Linked DNA regions of Homo sapiens: region 1 is linked to region 2. Evidence: promoter capture Hi-C in 16 types of primary human blood cells and fetal thymus (Javierre and others, 2016). All regions are on one chromosome and are shown on one strand. The core of a region is centred on a gene start or on the middle of the fragment in contact, and the rest is flanking DNA. Distances in the headings are between cores, read along the strand shown.

Evidence for each region. The method cuts DNA at HindIII sites, captures the fragments that hold promoters and counts their contacts. A CHiCAGO score of 5 or more calls a contact.
Region 1: a fragment that was not itself captured here is called in contact with the fragment with the promoter of UBL3 in region 2 in 1 of 17 cell types (neutrophils); the score reaches 5.6 in neutrophils.

What each region holds. Positions count from the first base shown.
Region 1 is chr13:31,153,514-31,157,458 of GRCh38, reverse strand. HSPH1 (heat shock protein family H (Hsp110) member 1) reads left to right here. Exons shown (of 18, transcript NM_006644.4): 3 at 1,805-1,945; 4 at 2,704-2,826. Among named protein-coding and RNA genes, the nearest start is that of HSPH1, 6.4 kb to the left of the region's middle. The HindIII fragment of the contact is 8,334 bases long and covers 1-3,945 here.
Region 2 is chr13:29,848,914-29,852,634 of GRCh38, reverse strand. It overlaps UBL3 (ubiquitin like 3), which reads left to right and starts at 2,018. Exons shown (of 5, transcript NM_007106.4): 1 at 2,018-3,123. The coding sequence starts at 3,097. RefSeq lists silencers at 1,863-1,972, 2,243-2,542 and enhancers at 2,103-2,172, 2,843-2,912, 3,383-3,452. The HindIII fragment of the contact is 5,102 bases long and covers 1-3,721 here.

The DNA.
Region 1 (3,945 bases), core at 218-2,717, 1.3 Mb before region 2:
AATGGTTTCATGTTTTCTAATCCTTTGAATATGTAGGTTGGATTTAACTTTATTTCCTTGTTACATTGGAAGAGAGAGATAACTAAAAGGGGTGAAAAAGGAAAGGAGAAATAGGCACACTCAAAATATGTTCAAAAGGATAGTGGGACTTTAGTTGTAACAATCCTTTAAATGTGCCCATTGAGGATATTGATAGCCTAGACCTAAAATTCTGTTGCATCCTTGTGATTACTTGAGAAGAATCTGTTGAGACTCATATTTGGCCAGTATACTACTAGACATACTTCATCTCAGTTTTAGACACATAAGGAATTTTAAGACCTAAACTTGCTTGAATTCTATATTGTTTGAAAACTAGTACTGCCAAGCTAACTGTATTCTTCCCTTTATTCAAAAAATTAGGTAAGAGAAAAAGTAAATAATATACTGTTTTGGTATTTTTAAGCTAATAATTTCAGAAGTCTTAGTTTTCAATCTTACAGTTATTTCTTGTTTCAAATGAGGTACCCTTGAGTGAAATGTGCTCTGAAGTGGGGCTTTTCAATCTAGAGTTTACCTAAAATATTTGACCAAAACGGTGGATTAAAAAAACACCATCTTTTACAACAGTTTAACAAACGTGCGCCAGTTGTGTAAGATAGCAGTTCAATTTCTTGTTTTTAAAAACCATGGCTCTCAAGTCTTCAGAATACGCACATGCAGTTGAAAACATTAGGTCACTTAGAAACTTGTTGAATTACTCTTCTGCCTTCTACTTTTTGGTGTAGATAACTAGCATTTCATGCTATTGCTAGGAAAGGTAGCGATCCATGCATTTTCTGGCACAGAGTGTTTATCCTGGCCGCTTAGCAATTTATTAGACTATAAAAATTAACTTTAATTTTTTTTTTTTTTGAGAATGAGTTTCACCCTTGTTACCCAAGCTAGAGTGCAATGGCACTATCTTGGCTCACTGCAACTTCTGCCTCCCAGGTTCCAGCGATTCTCCTGCCTCAGCCTCTCAATTAGCTGGGATTACAGGCATGTGCTGCCATGCCCAGCTATAAAAATTAACTTTTTTTTTTGTTTTGAGACGGAATCTCGCTCTGTCGCCCAGGCTGGAGTGCAGTGACACGATCTTGGCTCACTGCAAGCTCCGCCTCCTGGGTTCATGCCATTCTCCTGCCTCAGCCTCCCGAGTAGCTGGGACTGCAGGTGCCCGCAACCACGCCCGGCTAATTTTTTGTATTTTTAGTAGAGACGGGGTTTCACCGTGTTAGCCAGGATGGTCTCCATCTCCTGACCTCGTGATCCACCCGCCTTGGCCTCCCAAAGTGCTGGGATTACAGGCGTGAGCCACCGCGCCTGGCCAAAAATTAACTTTTTTAAACAAAATTATAATTTGGCTATAGTGCTACTAGATCTATTCATTCATTGGGTATAAAACCTCACAAGTTTAGCAGGGAAAAAAAGGAATGAAACAGTGATAAAATTCTAGTGTGTTTGTTCAGAGCTTTAGTGATAGTTTTCACTGTCTTTGAGTTTATCTTGCAGATTTTGAAATCTTTAAAGTCTGTCGTCACACTATTTTGCCTCTTGTTCCCTCTTGCTGCTTACTTTCTGGCATTTTCTATAGGAGAAGGAAAAAGTATAAATAAAATCTGTTCATAGATGGGAAATTCAGTGAAATTGGTGGGCCTCAGGGCAACTTATGTGCACTCATAGGATTGGTTTGAGTTGTAAAGTGAATAAATAAAATTACTAAAATTACTGGTAGGTGGTGAAATTAAAGAAAAAAATTAAAATCTCAAACTTCTTTTTGCAGCAAATCACTCATGCAAACAATACGGTGTCTAACTTCAAAAGATTTCATGGCCGAGCATTCAATGACCCCTTCATTCAAAAGGAGAAGGAAAACTTGAGTTACGATTTGGTTCCATTGAAAAATGGTGGAGTTGGAATAAAGGTAATATAATTGAGCAACCTTAGAAAAATACCAACTTATTAATACTTAAAAATACGAACTTATTTGAGTTATTACTTAAATTTCTTAATTACACCAGGTGGTCTTTTTGTTCTTTTTTTATTCAGCTCCTTTTAAAGTATAGTAGATAGACGCTAAATTGTCTTTGAATATTATTCAAATGGTAATATATATGCTATAACTTAATTTGTGTTTCTTCTGACTTTTTGGCAATTGTAAAATTTAGGTTTATTTGATGTTGGAAAAAAAATCGACATTGTGTTCATGTATCAAACAAAAGTCTGTTCTGAGACAGCCCAGTTGCAGTTGTTTGGAGAGCAATAGTGTAGTAACACCAGGAATCTTTTTTTAAACTTGCAGAGGTATTCCTGTCTTGTGATCAACACACAATAATATTTATCCTAGTGATTCATCTCTTCAGTTAGAGTGGAAATTTACTACCTTCTTTAATGTTTTGACTTAGATTTTGGGTGGGGTATATCTGCCCTAGCTTTCTTCCGCTCCTCTTCATCTTTAGGTAGAAGTTCTTTCTTCCTTTTTCTTTTTTTCTCTTTTCCTTTCTCTCCCCCTTCCCTCCTTCCCCTTCCCTTTTTCCTCCTTTTCTTCCTTCTTCCCAAAACAACTACAACAATAAAATAAAGATTTTGTGGAAGGGAATGTGTGCTAATTTTTGGAAGTTAAATATTGGCATGTAGCTTAAAGTACTACAATGTTTAAAACATTTTTTCCCTTCAATATAGGTAATGTACATGGGTGAAGAACATCTATTTAGTGTGGAGCAGATAACAGCCATGTTGTTGACTAAGCTGAAGGAAACTGCTGAAAACAGCCTCAAGAAACCAGTAACAGATTGTGTTATTTCAGTAAGTATAATTCAGCAAGGCAGTGTGTTTTATTTCATTTTTGCGTTCTTTGTATTACTTTTAAGTATGAAATGTGGGAAAGCTGTTCTTTAGTTACTAGAGACCGTGTTCTACTGGACTGTATTAACATGTGTTCCAGAGCATTACAAAGTAGATTTGAGTGATATTTTTAGCCAGAAGCGGCAAAGGTTCTTGACTGGAAATCAAAATCTCTTGTGAGACTTTTTGAAAATACAGATTTTGACTGGTTCCATTTGTGAGTATTCTAATACAGTTAGTTGCTGCACTATCAGGCTTGTACATTTAACACAGGAGCTTTTCACAGGTGAAAGAATTCTACCCTCCGTTGAGAAACCAGTGTATTAGGAGTTTTAAAACGTAGCTTACCAGTAGTGACAAAACCTAAATTTTTAACACTAGCAAGCCTGTTACCTTCAGTGGACAATTACTAGTTAGACTATCAAAGGGTACTTGAAATGGACAAAAGTCATCTTTTATTTGGACACCAAAAAGGTAAATTCTGCTCACCCAGGTGTCTTGGGTCACTTCTTGATAGGTTGTGGGGTATGCTTTTGGACTTAAATACAGCATGGTCTTTGCTCTATAGTATGAGCAACGTGGCCGGCTGAGATCAGTCAGCAACAAGCCTTTATGAATGAATGAGGCAGAAGAACTAACATTTCTCCTGCTGTCCTTGCAAGATGGGAAGTGTTTTAATCTCTGGCAAAATTAAAGAATTAAGTTATAAGTCAGTGGCTTCTCCCTCCCCACTCTCTCCCTTCCTTTTTTTTTTTTTTGCCACATTTTTTTTCCCCTGGTGAGCTGAGAAACTGATGGACGAAGTGTTCTGATTTGAAAGGTGAGCAGAGATCCACCTTTGCTCTTGCTCATGTCTCTCTCTCAAGCATCTACAAATATTTTGGACAACTTTGAAAAATCACCGTACTAAACTCTCTCTTAGGTACTTTGCACTTAAATGATTCTACGAATGTGTTGTTAGATACTTTTTTTCCTGAATAGTATCCTGAAGTGCTGCACTAGAAGGCAGTCAAAAAAGAATTACAACTAGAATAGCTCAAGTCAGTGCTGTAAGAAACCTCAGCCCTTGGGTTGTTTTTA
Region 2 (3,721 bases), core at 769-3,268:
GAGTTATAATGAGTTTTATTGAGAATAATGTCTCAGCCCCTCTTAGAAGAGTAATTGGAAACACAGCGACTTTTGAAAGACATTGCCTTTTGTAAAGGTGGCAGTGGTAACCTGCAGCAAACAGCAACTCTTGCCTTTCTACTTACAGTGGCACTTAGGCCCGGCAGTGCCATGGCCAGGCAGTGCCATGGCCAGGGAGGTCATTGGATAAAAGTTGGAGTCAAGGGTATGGTGGAGGGACTAACTCTGTGAGTTAGAGCTTTCAAAATGTGCTCCAATATTCCTTCTGAGCTCATTGGTCAATTGAAGTATTTTCACCTGCCCTTATTTCCTGGGGGGCTGGTGTAGGGGTAGGGGGACTCTGTGGTTGCTAAACATTGCAAATGAGCAACCAAGTAACAAAGGCCATGGAAAATCACGTAACTATGGACTTGGAAATATCTAGACAAAGTCCTGAAGCCTAATCACAGTGAGATTTGGGCCTCTCTTCTCTTCTGGCCTTTGGTTTTTCGGAGAATTTGATCTATCTTCCTCAGGGTGATATAGGCCCTTAGGAGTGTTTGGAATTTCTCCACCCAGGCTACTCAAGAGGCAGGTACTCTAAATGTCCTGTGGGTTTCCAACTGATGAGAAACCCAACTGGAGAGATTGCTGTGGGGAATCACGTAGGCTTCTAGACAATGAGCTCCCTGAGGACAGTGACTGGATTCTGCCTCTTTTCAACAGCCCTATAGACAAGGATGTAATAACCCCCATTGCCAACCCAAGACCTTGGCATTTCTGCCACATGATGCTGCTGTTCGCTACAGTGACTCATTTTTAAACTCCTAGTGCCTAGCAGAGTGCCTGGCACATTTGTTTGCTGAATGAGAGAATGAGTAGTGACATTTCATATCAAATGATGCATTATTATTTACAAAGTGATTTATTTCCCATGCATGAACTCATCCTCATAACTACCCCTACTTTACCCCGGAAGGTAGGCAAGACCATTTTACAGATGAGGTCACACAGCTGTAGGTTGGAGAGGTGGCTTTCAGACTCTAAATTCATTGGCATTTATATATAGGCATCATATTGAGACTGCCCTTTCTAAAGTACTCTGTCAAAGGACTAAGAGATATGAATAGGGATTCAGATGTTGACCTCAGATTTAGGAACAAAATGCAGAAATCACAAATGTCCATCTGAATGGTGTCTCAACAATGGCATTATTTTCTCCTATTTGCTAATCACTGCAAGGCATATAGGTTTTCAATTACATTATGAGTTACATAGAATAGAATTTAGGGTCCAGATGGGTAAACTGGTGAATCCCCATGAAGTTTGTAGTAGCTATTTCCTGATACAGATTTGATATAATAACACTGTTGTATGTAATACAGTTTTGGTAATTTCAGTTAAGTAGATTGTAGCTTTATTGCCCTGGGTCTTCAAGGAAACACATGTTCAAATATTCTCACTGCTTAATGAGATCCTTGTTCCTGTTGAACTTATGTGACCTTATTGGAAATCAATGATTGCTTTTGTTCTTCAAAATGTAATGTTGAGGAGACCTAGATGAAATCACTCTACAAAATGCATTGAGATTGCAGGATGTGGAGAATGTGCTGTAATTAAAATGAATGATTCTGCTTGGAGGTACAGCATATTTTAGCTCTGTGTGCATATCGTGCATAAGGGAATTTCTCTATGCAGAATTATTTTCTCCCAACAATTCTCATGATCACAGCACTCCTGGTAGCAGGTATCACTTAACTCCTGGGCAGCAGCTTGTCCAAAGCAAGGGAAAGGGAGCTTTCCTTTCCTCGCAACTGTTGCTATGGGGGGCGTGGCTTCGGAGCTGGGTGAGGAGGCGTTCGGCGGCTCCCTCCCCCCCCCACCCTCGTAGACTACACTTCCCGTGATGCTCGAGGGAATGGTCTCCGTGGTGACGCACTTGGTGTCCGCGGAGGGAGGACGAGGACGGGGGCGGCGGCTGCTGCGAGGGGGGGCCCGTGCTCTCCCCGTTTCCCTTAGTCGCACTCAGGCAGCCGCCGCCGCCGCCGCTGCCGCCATGTTGGTTTGAGAGGCGATGACAGGAGGCGGCCGCGGCGTGTGGGACTGAAAAGTGAAGGAGGAGGAGGAGAAACAAAGCTCTGAGAGGAAACCATTCCCGGGCTGAGGAGAAGGAGGACCCGGCCTCTTCCGGGGACCAGCCGAAGTCGGCGTCGCCCGGAGCTCGCGAGGCCGGGGAGGGGAGGGGAAGGGAAGGCGGAGACCGGGGAGGCGGCGGCGGGGAAGGCGGAGGCAGAAGAGGAGTGGCGAGGAGCCGGAGACGATGCGCCCCGACCCCAGCTGCTGTCCGGAGGCGCCCGCGGCCTGAGCCCAGAGGGGCTGTGGAGTGTCCCGGCCGGCCCCGAGCACCCCCGCGCTGTCGGTCCCCCGCTCCGGTCTTTCGCTTTGGCTTCCAACTAGTTAAATGCCCTTGAGCGCGGGTTTCCGCGGCCCGGCTCTTCGCCCCCGCGGCGCGAGTTGAGCCGTTTCCCCGCGCTGTCCGCGCGGGCGCTCCGACAGCGGCTCTGCAGGGTCCGCGGCCAGCGTCCGGCCACCGCTCGGCCGCCACTCAAGGCTCACGCGTCGATGTGTAGCTACATAGTTATCTGTGTACATCCACGCTGGGGCATTTTTCTCCTGCTTAATGAGGACTTGACTCGGGAGCAAGTGTGAATCATTGCCGGGGCTGGGAAAGGAGGAAGGCGCATTTAACCCCCTCCCACCCCTCTCCATGTCCGTGTGTCACTCGGCTCGGTCCACCTGGCGCGGCCGGTCCTGGGGCTGCTGCTGCTGTTGACGACGACGACGACGACGGGGGCTGCCTCTGCTGTCCCGGGAGTTTCCTCCTGCTCCGGCCACACAGCTCCTGGGGATTGTTCCTCTTCGAACCAGAACCTCGGCCTGACCGGCACTTTGGCTCCAAAATAACTTTATTTTTGGGGGAGAAAGCACATCACGAACCAGTCAAAATCGTGGTTTATTTCTGTAACGTGAAGACTTCTGCTCTTTTTTCTTTGTTTGTTTTTTTCGTAAACATCTGGGTGTATATCAAACGGCAAGATGTCCAGTAATGTCCCGGCGGATATGGTAAGTGACGGATAAGTTATGACACTGATTTAATTGTGGTTTCCAATCTTATTTAATCGGAAAGACGGCAGGCGTGGGGCGAAGATTTGCTGGGGACTGTCGAAAAGCCACTGTGCTGAGCGATTTGGAGAAGTTGGAGCTTCTGGTTTCCCCCTTTTAGGAAGTACTGCTTTTAATATGGGTTCTCTCATTTGGTCGTGTTTTCTAAAGCATTGAAGATAGTGGAGAAGTAGGGAAATGTATCATGGTAGCTTGAGGGGACAAAACATCTCCCTCTTCGCTAGAAGCCTCCGAACACTAGTATTTTAACGTTTCTGAAAACGTCAGGGACAGTGGGCAGAGCTGAGGACGGGTGTCCCTACGAGAGAATAGGTAGGGAAACGGGAATCTTGCTTTATGACACAGACGAGATCGTCATTGCAGTAGGGACGAACTTGATATTTTTCAAGAACAGGGATGCACATCTCTTCAAGAAAAAGTATGTTAGAATTTGCTGTGAGGTTTTTGAAATGTCTGAATACGGATGGCAACAGAAATATAAAGATATTTTGGGATTTTCAGAAACGTAGGCTGACCCTGTATTGGTACTTACAATGAA